Linked DNA regions of Homo sapiens: regions 1, 3 and 4 are each linked to region 2. Evidence: promoter capture Hi-C in 16 types of primary human blood cells and fetal thymus (Javierre and others, 2016). All regions are on one chromosome and are shown on one strand. Each heading gives the region's core, a stretch centred on a gene start or on the middle of the fragment in contact. The rest is flanking DNA. Distances are from core to core; before and after follow the strand shown.

Region 1 (2,715 bases), core at 55-2,554, 560 kb before region 2:
ATGTTAACACAACTTGGCAGGTTCTAGGATAAAGAAATGCACAGAGGAGCAAAGAGGGGAGGCAGATATTGCAGGCTAGATTCCCCAAAACTTTACTTGGAGCTTGACTACTCTGATGATGACCTCCTGGGTCTGAGTCTCAGCTTCTTTTGCCCTCCTGCTATAGAAGATGAGAAGGACTTTGCTAACAGGAAGGCCTTCTGGCTTTCACACTTAGTTTGTAATTGTCAACTAATCTTTCCCAGCTTTTCCTTATCTTTTCCAAAGCTTCATTCAAGCTTGGCAATAGGCACCCAATTCCATTGTCTTCATAGTTACTTTTTATTTGCCCTGTTTTTAAGAGCTCAGCATTTCATAGCCAGGCCTAACGTATTCCTTTATGCTCTTACACCAAGCCAGCTCACCACCAGTGAAGTTTGCAGTCATTGCCAGGGCTCTCTGTGGTTCACCTACCACCAGTGACAGTGTCCTAATTACCATTTGAGTAGTGGTTGGTCCAGCTGCAAATCTCATCTTATCATCTGCTTTTTCAGACCACTTCCAGTACCAATTGTCACAGGTTGGGCTTCTGGGGAGGCAGAATCTGAAATGGAACTTAGCATGCAGGAGGTTTATTAGAGAGAGCTCATAGGATCAACTCCTATGGAGGGGAAAGAAGCATTCTGGGGTAGATGGAGGAGTTGAATTGTAATTTCATCTCAGTTGAAACCTCAGCTACCTCTCTTGAGAGTTGTGAAGAGGGAATGACCGTTCAGAGCTTTCCAGAGTTGGGGTGAGAGAACACTGAGCCTTTTATACACCCATGTCATATCTCTGGGTCACCCCAGGAAGCAGATAAGGCCTTGGGAAAGGCAACTTTCTTCACCAGGATCAGTCCCTGAAAAGAGATGATAATATAAGGTGGAATAGTCATTGCATAATAAATTTACTAATATATTTCTTTTGTTATTTTCCTCTTAGCATCTTTTTATGGTGAAAGCTATGTGGAGTTCAACATCATAGAAGTTTCCTCTGAGCTATCTCTTCAATTAAAATTTCATACCAGCAAACCACAGGGATTACTTTTGCTTGCAGCTGGGACAAATGACTATTGTATAATAGAACTTAAATCAGGAACCTTATGTGTATGATTTTAAATCTTGAAAATACATATAAGCATATAATTACTGGAGAGAAAAGCAGTTGAGAGAGAAAGAGAACAAAACAGCTACATGTATTGATTGCTGTTATTTCATTAGAATAAAATGATGTGCCATTTGTATAGGTTGGGATCTCCTTCGGTTTTACTAGCATGGCTTAAATATTCCAACTTTAAAATTTCCTGAGTTTAGTATGTAATCTATAAGCATGGGAAGAGTTTTCATGTGCAAATTTCTCTCTTCTTTTTCTTTTGTGAAAGGTCCGATTTTCTCAATAAAACATTATGAAATGAAAAGTGAGATGAGATTGATTAATTATGATTCTTTTTCAGGTGAGAGTAAATTTGGGTACAAGTGAACAAATGCTCCTTTCTGAGCAGAGACTTCATATGGATGACCTGGTTTGGCATTTGGTGGAACTGTGCTATGTTAAGCATAATATTTCCTTTGTTATTGACAAACGTTATGAGACAACTGGCCAAATGGCAGCTGGTGGGATGCATAATTTGAATTTTCAACATGGAATCTATGTAGGAGGCCGCAGGGCACTCAATGTACCTTATCTGTACGGAAAGCTCCCCAATTTTTGAGGATGTATGAAGGATGTGGTATTTAACCAGAGGGAGATCCTTACGTCCCTTAGATCTTACCCTGGTTTTAAGAAGGTTTATGAGGTGTCACTAGGATGCAATGACGAGTTTTTTTTGCAGGGGAGGATGAAGCCATCAATTTCTTTAGCTCCAGATTCTCTGTCAGTTTTCCAGAATGGAAAGTGCAAGGGTAAACACTATTGGAATTTACTTTGCAAACTGTAACTCAGCAAGCCTTGCTTTCATTTCAGTTGGGTAAGGAAGGAGATTTTGTTGCTTTGTAAATAGATGAAAGTCTATTGAAGGCTTATGTAGGAAGGCATAAAAGTAAAACTCAGCTTTCTTCTTTTAGTTTTGTCAGTGACAACAAGTGGCATGTTATTCAATTCAAATTCACAGGGGAGTATCTGGACCTAACAGTAGATGAAAAAAAGGTAAGGAAGTCACTGCCTTTGCAAAGCAAACATTTGTATCTGAAGGAGCCCTTTTTGTGGGAGGTCTTGATAACCAAATGTGGGAAGAAGTAAAGAGGTTAGAACTTGCCTCTGTGCCTGGGAAATTTGCTCGAGGAACCTCTTTCAAAGGGTGCTTAAGAAGCTTGGAAGCCAATTCAGAAAAGAGAGCGTTAAGGGATGCCCTTGTTTTCAAAGATATTCCTGTTGTTGTAAAACTGAGAGTGTTGATAACACAAATCCTTCCATAACAGCGATAGAAAATCTGCATCAGTCAGAAGTTTTCCTTTCCACTGCCGTCCCTGAGGTCATCAAGCCTTTTCTTCAAGATGAGAGTAGCGATTTCTTGGTTTTGAATAACTTGCAGGTCCAAGAAGGTGGACCTTACTGAAACAAAGGCACATGAAACTGGATGTGAAATTTAAGGATTTGGGTATCCATCATTCTCAAATACTATTTAAAATAGAGGGAAGGCCTATTCATGGGTTCCTTCAATTAAATGTACCACCTGAGCAAGTAATGGAGACAGCTTTT
Region 2 (2,851 bases), core at 229-2,728:
TGGAAATTAGACTGCATACCTAAAATCACTTGGCTCATCAACCTACAGCTCCCTCTAGGGGGCTGCCTCGCCCTTATTGGTTATGTGCACATTTGGGGTGAATTCCACGGTCATCTAACAGAACTGTTTTGGTAGTCCCAGGTAAACTTACGGTACGGAAATTTGTTTCTTGAGGATACAAAAAAGAAAGGTGTCAGGGGGAAAGTAAAAATTCAACTCCTAAAACATCGCGTGTAGAGTCAGGCAGTCACTTCATAAAGAGTTCAGTCGATGAAGTTTCACTCTTGAAACTTTACTGTATGTATGCAAGCCCTAACTATTAATACAGGTGACAGCATCCACCTTATCTTCCATTCTCCCTAAGCCCTGAGGGTGGGGATGGGGGGGGGGGCACTCCAATCACCTGAGCCTAAGAACATAGCCTAAGAACATGTGTCTGGCATGGTCTGGTTATTTATAGCCTAAAAAAAAAAAAAGCCAGCTTCTTGTCCGATTCAGGCTTTCCCTGCCCAAACCCACTAGCTTAATGCGATATTGACATTACCAGGAAATGCATACGTCCCAAATGCATCTGCTTATAGATGTTTTTACCTCCTGAAATAATACCGGGTCACAAATACTGTTGTGTTTTTTGCAGAGAGCTTCTACTGCTCATTTAATTCAGGGGCGTTGGATTTGTGCTGAGCGTAATTTGACTCCAAGCATGCAAACTGATCAACTTCTTCCCGTGTGTTTGGGGAGTACAAGTGACTACTGCGACTCCTCAAATGTTTTTCTTTTCCTTTTCACGTGGAGGAAAGCGAATTCTCCGAAGACTGTTCGGCGTTCTACGCAGGGGTTGGAAGGGGGGTTCCTGAGTCACCTCTGGCTGCGCGGGGGGCCTGTGTGTACCCTCAGGGACACCAGGCTGGAATCGTCCACCTTACTTTCAAATGATAAAAGTGCGGAGGGTCTTTCTGCCCCTAAGTCGCGTACAGGATTGCCTGTTTACGGAGTACACTTTCACACACTTCTTTCCCGGTGGTGCAGTCTCGTGGCGGCAGAGCCTTTAGGAAGGCTCTGGGGGGAGACAAGATCAGTGGCGACCACGCCTCCCATGTTACAGCGCTCGCTTCCTACTGGGGGTTGGCGGGGACACCAAGGCTCTCCAGCCCGGGAACACGGAGTTCGGCTCCGTTGTACCCAACTGGAAAGCTGTGGAAACACAAAACTCGGGCGGCGACAGCACCAGCCGATTTTCCGCTCTCTTGGCTCTTTCTTCCGCTTGCACCGCCCCCACCCCGGCTCCTCCGCTCAGCACACAGGAACCCACATCCCCCACCACTCCCGCGTTTCTCTCCTGCCACCAGCTGGGGCCTGCCTTTTATAGGCGCCGCAGCCAATGAGCACGCTTCTTTCCTTCTGCCCGCCCGCCTGGCCAATCGCCGCGCCCCTTGTGTAATCTCCGGCTAGTCGGCTGCTTTCGGCTATTTTCGCTGTTGCTGGCTTTTTCAGGAGCTGCTCGCTCGCAGCCAGAGACGCTGCTTTTTTTTTCCGGGTTCGGAGCCGTTCCGGATGCTTTAGGCTGCCGGATGTCTGATCTCCGAATAACTGAGGCGTTTCTGTACATGGATTATCTGGTAGGTGCAGGGCAGGGGTGGCATGTCGCCTCTCGGATCTCGGCGTGCCCGATGGCCCCCTGCCTTGAGGAGCAGCCTTTTTGCTTTCTTTCTTTGGGATAGGATGCCTCTGGGGTTCTTTCTCCCGCAGCCGGCTGGTAAGCCTTTCCCTGGACTCGGAGGGGCAGCCTCCAGGGCGGGTGGGTGGTGGAGCTGACAGGTAAAGGTGCGGCCTGGGCCAGCACGGCTGCAGGGCGAGGGTCGCGCTGGGGCTGCTTGAGAGATGGGGCGGCCGCGGCGGCGCGTCCCCTGCCCGCGATCGGCTTCCTGGCTTCCCTCTGCGCTCTCCGCAGAGGACTTTCTTTCCGGGGGAGCAGGAGTTTTCCTCTCTCCCTGGAGCAGAACTCCAGGTGCTATTAAAGAGCCATAACCAGAATGGCTCACTAAGTGCCCAGCAGCCCTGGTCATTTGATTGTTATTAAATCTCTAAAGCTATGACCTCGGTCGTGGCGGGGTTTTAAAAGCACATTACCATAAAGCAGACGGGTCTAAACTACCTCGCAGGCTGGCACGAACAGGACTGAGTAGGGACAGGTATAGCCCCACCATTCCGGTCTTGGGTGCGTGCCGCGGTTCCACTGTGCACGGATTGGAACCCGGCTGTTTAGGCCAGGCTTGTGCTGAGAAGTTTAGGTGGGAAAAGTGTCAGCACAGTGCTGGGACCGAACATCATTTTAAAAATGGACTTCTATGTGTCTTTGTGGAATTATGCGAGCACCATGTTTTGTTCCAGAAATTATATTTCCCCAGAGTTGCTTGTTTGCGTTTAAGGGGATCCTCATTTACAGAGACTTGTGTTCGATCCTATACGATTATTGTGTTTACCATGTTGGGCAGAACCGCTATTGCCATGCAGAGTTGAAGTAGACGGTTAGAAACATTGACCCTCCTGTCATCTTGTTGGACACATGCACTCGGTTTTCGACTGCAGATTGGCCTGGCAGAGATTTGCCAGTGCCTTCTAGGAATTACACTTAAGGCTGTACTGAGAAAGTCTGTGCATGCTTTGATGGCCAAGAAACGCCGGACCGGCTTTGTGCTGTTATCTGTGTATTTGGGCTTATTTTAGTGTACATAAAGAAAATGTTTCTCCTAATGCTTCAGAGCTTGATGGTCTTGTGGGAAAGGATGGTGACTGCAGTTAATGCATAGCCTTGTGAATGGAGCTGGATCTAAAATTCTGAATTCAAGTT
Region 3 (2,826 bases), core at 116-2,615, 590 kb before region 2:
TGACTTGCTTTAACTTTCTTCCTTCATTGTAAAGTCTTGCTCCCAAATGCTCTGTGAGGACACTCGTTGAAGTGGCTATCATTGATTTATATTTCTGTGTGAGGAATTCCAGCCCCTTTCTTCAGGGTAGGTTTTTACTCTGAGAAATTATGAAGATGGCAGAGGAATAGAAGGGTCCCCATGGGAACAAAAGCAGGACTGGCATTTGGGGGTATTAAGATACACACTTTACTGACTTCTAAATTTTCCTTGAGGTCTCTGAGTTCTGCTGTAAAATAGTTTGGCTGGCTTTCCATTACTCTCCTATGAAAATGGTAAACTGACAACTTCAAATAGAAAAAAATTTCATATTAATTTCTTCATTTCTTCATCAACTACTTATTGAGTACATGCTGTGTCAGCTGCTGGTCCAGACCCTGGGGAGATAACACAGCATCGATGGTCACTTGGATTAGAGCAGCAACAGAGATGGAGAGAAGCAGATTGATTTGAGTCATGTTTAGATGTAGGGCTAACAGGACTTTGGGTATAAGGAAAAGAGATGAATGAGTGTTGATTCGTAAGGTTTGGACTTGAACCATGAGATAGATGGTGGTGCTATTACAGAGATGAAGGGGATGAGAGGAGGACCAGGCTTGCAGAGCAGAAGTCAAGGCTTCCATTTTTGTCACATTAATTTTGAGATGACTATTTGACAACTGGGGGAAAATGGCAAGCAGGCCTATCTTATTCAGTTCAGGCTGTCATAACATAAGGCCCCATGGACTGGGTGGCTTAAATAACAAACATTTTATTTCTCATAGTTCTAGAAGCTGGGAAGTCCAAGATCAAGGTGCCTGCACATCCAGTGTCTGGTGAGGGCATTCTCCTTGGTTTGTAGACAGCTGTCTTCTCATCGTATCCTCACATGGTAGAGAACAGAGAGAGGAAGCTAGCTCTCTGGTCTCTCCCAATAAGGAAACTAATCCCATTAATGTGGGCTCCATTTTCAAGATCGAATTACCTCTCAAGGCCCCCACTCCTAATACCATCACATTGAGGGTTAGGATTTCAGCATTTGAATTTGGGCAGGGAGGTGGGGGAGAAGGCCAGACATTTGGTCCATAACAAGGGCTTTGGATACACAAGTAAGGCTGAAACCCAGGGGGCCCCTCAGAACCAGAAGTATGAATTTGGGAGTCCTTTCCATGTAGTACTTCAAACCATGGGGCGGGAAAAAATTTGTAGATGGAGAAGAAGAGAGCAGGTAGGGCTGAGCTCTGAGTGCAGAGATGGCTTAGAGGACATGGAGCTAGCAGAGGAGACTAAGCAGGTGCAGTCACTGAAGTGGGAGGTTAACACAGAGCCTGTTGCTTTATGGAAGCCAAGAAAGGAAAGGATTTCAAGGAAAGAGCAGTCAGTTTGAATGCTACTGAATGTAGGGCGAGATGAGAACAGAGAGTACCATCAGGTGTGGTGATTGGCGCTTTCTGCTCTCATCTCATCCTACCTTCAGTAGCTCAGCAGGAAACAGAAATTATACTGCCCTGATTGAATGGGTGCAAAGAGAAGGGGACATCATGTGCTTCAAAGAGTTGGATCAGAAGAGTTGGGGGGAAGTTAGGTATGGTGAAGGGACTATAATATCAGGAAAGGGATTTTTAGGATTAGAATATCCTTTTTAGCTGGAAAAATAGAGAGGGGGATATTGAAGATTGCAGGAGAGAAAGAAAAAGAGAGAGAGAGACGCCTTGAAGAAGCAGAAGGGAATGGGATCTAGAGGCAAGTGGAGGTTTGCCCTGAATAAGTAACTCTAGTGCCTGTAACAAGATGCCGGGTGCAGGGATGACGAGGCTGGGTTGAGGTTGGTCAAAAAGAGACTAAACTCCAAAAGAGGTGAGAAAGCGGAGACAGTGAAAGGAAATGACGCTTTCCAAAAGAAGACTTCTTTCTCTGTGCTAAAGGAAAGGATACATGTTGGGCTACGGAAATGGGATGGAATTTGGAGTTAAAACACTTGAGTCCCAGGATTGAGACTCATCTTAAGCTACTGAGTGTAGCTTACCTGCCCAACAGATTTTTCTGAGGGGAAAAAAGGGGCAATTCACCTACTCAAAAGAATCAAGATGTAATTATTTTCTTAGAATATCTCCACAATTTGATCATGAGGGCTTATCAAAATTTCATGAAAACAGACATTGCATGAATACTCTTAGTATCCACTTATTCATTCATTCATTCATTCCACAGATAGTCATTGAAAACCCATTATGGCCCAAGCACTGCTGCAGGCATTGGGGTTGCTCAGTGACCATACCAAGTCTCTGCCACATAGAGTTTACATTAGAGTGGGAAGGAAAACTATAAATAAGGATCTATGTATACCAGATGGTTATCAATGTTGTGGAGAAAAAGCAGCTTATGCAGAATGGAGGAGCTGTTATCTATGGTGACTATGGGAGTCCTCACCAGTTAGAGTACATTTAAGCAGAGACAGCAGCATGGGACAAGCCATGAGGACGCAGATGCTCCTCATTTTACAATGGGGTTATGTCCCTAGAAGCCCATCAGGAACCTCATAAGCCTATCATAAGTTGAAAATATTGTTAGTCAACAGTGTGTTTTCAACTTACGGTATTTTCAATTTACAATGGGTTTATCCAGATGCAACCCCATCGGGAGCTAAGGAGTGCACTGAATGTGCATCACCTTTGCACCATTCAAAGCAGAGACATTGAATGTTGAACCTTGCTAAGTTGGATGCTGTCTGTATTATAAGCATCACAAGCAGAGGAAACTGCAAGTGTAAAGAGCCTGTGTCCTTGGGGTGTTTGTCTACTATGAGAT
Region 4 (2,846 bases), core at 282-2,781, 540 kb before region 2:
AGAGTGTGATGTTCCCCTTCCTTTGTCCATGTGTTCTCACTGTTCAATTCCCACCTATGAGTGAGAATATGCGGTGTTTGGTTTTTTGTTCTTGCGATAGTTTACTGAGAATGATGATTTCCAATTTCATCCATGTCCCTACAAAGGACATGAACTCATCATTTTTTATGGCTGCATGGTATCCCATGGTGTATATGTGCCACATTTTCTTAATCCAGTCTATCATTGTTGGACATTTGGGTTGGTTCCAAGTCTTTGCTATTGTGAATAGTGCCGCAATAAACATACGTGCGCATGTGTCTTTATAGCAGCAAGATTTATAGTCCTTTGGATATATACCCAGTAATGGGATGGCTGGGTCAAATGGTATTTCTAGTTCTAGATCCTTGAGGAATGCTCACCATCACTGGCCATCAGAGAAATGCAAATCAAAACCACAATGAGATACCATCTCACACCAGTTAGAATGGCGATCATTAAAAAGTCAGGAAACAACAGGTGCTGGAGAGGATGTGGAGAAATAGGAACACTTTTACACTGTTGGTGGGACTGTAAACTAGTTCAACCATTGTGGAAGTCAGTGTGGCGATTCCTTAAAACATCCTTTTAATATCTGCCCCTCATTTTTTATTGGAGTGTGGTATCTCTTTTATCCACTAGAATGTGTAATAACAATGGCAAATGAGCATAGAAACTTTCTGGAAAGACTGTGTGTATTGATCAATTGCAGAGTGTTCTCATAAATTGATAACCTTTAACATTATTAAATAATTTTCACACATCAGGTGTGTTTACTTTTTTGTGAAAGCTAATAGATATAGCATATGCATTTTATCAACATAGTAGAGCCACGAGAATGCAGTTTTCAATAACATAGTTTCTCCAAAGCTATGGTTACCAGTTACTTCTTTCCAGGCAAAGTTTTAAACTTAGGAGATTATTTCAGATGATGATGTTTCTTATTTCTATATTTCAGAGCATATCAAACAGTAATAATAACAACCATTTACATGGTCCATTACATGGTCCTAATGATAGTTATTACTTACATAGTACTTACAGTGCCTGGCATTGTTCTATGCGCTTTACATTTACCCAGTGAATCTTCAACAACTCTCTGGGATATGATTTTTATTTTAAAGATGAGAAATCTGCAATGCAGAGAGGCTTTGACACTTCTCCAAGGTCCAAAGCAGAAGGGCTGCTGGTGGACAGCAAGTGGCAGAGCTAGAATGCGAGTTTGAGTTTGGCACCACAGTGTTCTCTCACTTCTTCCTTCATAGTTAGCGAAGAAGCTCAAGGACCTGGTGAAGCAGATAAAGAGAGTATTGCTCTTATTCCAATTTTAAGAAGGTGGAATTAAAGATCAAGAGGTTAAGCGATTTGCCCAAAATAACAAAGTTAGTGGCAGAGTCTGGGGCAAAGGCAGTTATGCAAATGCAAATGTGATAAAGTCTTCAGATTCAGTGCTGTTTCTGACTTTTCAAACAGCATGTTCTCAAGACATTCGGATTATCCTGCATGATGACTCACTCTCCCTACTTGTCATCTGGGCCTGGAGGAGGTGGCAAGAAAGTCTGTCTGCAGCCTAAGTGGGAGAAGAAGGTGGGAGCGTGGGGGATAGAGTTGCTGATAACATCTCAGACTCTGGAGGGAGTTCATAGCCAGCAATCAGAATGTTAACCTCTGTGTCCCACCATTTAAAACACACTTCTTTCTCCTGACAAATTAAAACATTTCCTTAAGCCACAGTTCTTTCAGCTGATCTCCAAGGTCATTCAATGGTACAAGAGATCATTTGTGTCCCAACAAACTGGAATTGGGAATTGGAGTTAGGCCATCTTGGGTGAATCCTTTGCATTTTACTTTGAAATATATTCTACTGAGTATTTTTGTATTCAAATATGATCAGTGAATTTTGTGCATATCTGATAAAACATATTTTTGTCCACAAGGGGGCTTCATTTTCCTATTTTTCAAGTTCCTCTTTCAGTAATACTATACATTTTGTTTTGTTGTTTTTATACTGAAAATAGAACCATTTGCTTGCTTTTGAGAAATACTTGTCATCACTAAAAGGAGCTTTGAGAGCTGGTCACAGTAGAAGAATTAAGGCAGCAAAGTTTGAAATGCCAATTGAAGCTCTCGGGGGACCAACAGTGGGAGAGTGAATTCATGAGCATTTCACATCCCTCGTATGAAACGCAACAAAGGTCTAGGCTTTGTTGTTTTTGTTTGTTTGTTTGTTTGTTTGTTTTTGAGACGAAGTCTTGCTCTGTCACCCAGGCTGAAGTGCAGTGGCACGATCTCGGCTCACTGCAACCTCTGCCTCCAAAGGTCTGGGCTTTTAAATATTAAGTTTACAACTAGGATTAAATGGGATCACAATTAGGTTTCTAAATACCACTAAACTCTTCTTAAAGCTAAAGGTCAATTTAAAAATTATTATTCCAGGTTTGTGTTATTTTCTGATATTTATGCTTTGAACTATTCTTTTTTGGGCTTTGGATCACTTTAAAATCTGAATTCAAATTGGGGGTCTTTGTTTTCCTTCTCCTCATCTGCCTGAAGTTTCCATTACCAAGCACTGGGCACTAAATCAGGCCTTACCTGAAGCAATGGGGTCGTTAATTGAACTAAATTTGGTTTGAGTGGAAATGAGACCTGAGGCTACTAGATCTTGTTTTGAGTGGCAGGTTTTCCATTTGTTTTGGAAGATGGTATATTTCAGAGGCGAGAGGGAGGGAAAGCAGTGTTCCATAGCAGAGTAGCTGCAGTGGAAAACATGCTTTGTCCAGCCTTGGTGTGTATGGCCTTGGAAAAAATGATTGTTTCTACAAGTCACG

The links. Contacts are between HindIII fragments. The CHiCAGO score rates a contact against its expected background, and 5 or more counts as called.
Region 1: a fragment that was not itself captured here is called in contact with the fragment with the promoter of ARL15 in region 2 in 4 of 17 cell types (total B cells, naive CD8 T cells, monocytes and 1 more); the score reaches 11.6 in total B cells.
Region 3: a contact is called between a fragment that was not itself captured here and the fragment with the promoter of ARL15 in region 2, in 2 of 17 cell types (M2 macrophages and M1 macrophages). The highest score is 6.6, in M2 macrophages.
Region 4: a fragment that was not itself captured here is called in contact with the fragment with the promoter of ARL15 in region 2 in 2 of 17 cell types (neutrophils and total B cells); the score reaches 5.4 in neutrophils.

The regions. Positions count from the first base shown.
Region 1 is chr5:54,870,788-54,873,502 of GRCh38, reverse strand. It overlaps the pseudogene CSPG4BP. Among named protein-coding and RNA genes, the nearest start is that of ESM1, 110 kb to the left of the region's middle. The HindIII fragment of the contact is 2,048 bases long and covers 281-2,328 here.
Region 2 is chr5:54,309,200-54,312,050 of GRCh38, reverse strand. It overlaps ARL15 (ARF like GTPase 15), which reads left to right and starts at 1,478. Exons shown (of 5, transcript NM_019087.3): 1 at 1,478-1,619. The coding sequence starts at 1,572. The HindIII fragment of the contact is 4,353 bases long and covers 1-2,851 here.
Region 3 is chr5:54,898,090-54,900,915 of GRCh38, reverse strand. No RefSeq gene overlaps it. Among named protein-coding and RNA genes, the nearest start is that of ESM1, 86 kb to the left of the region's middle. RefSeq lists a silencer at 1,087-1,244. The HindIII fragment of the contact is 5,239 bases long and covers 1-2,826 here.
Region 4 is chr5:54,844,441-54,847,286 of GRCh38, reverse strand. It overlaps the pseudogene CSPG4BP. Among named protein-coding and RNA genes, the nearest start is that of LINC02998, 100 kb to the right of the region's middle. The HindIII fragment of the contact is 9,684 bases long and covers 1-2,846 here.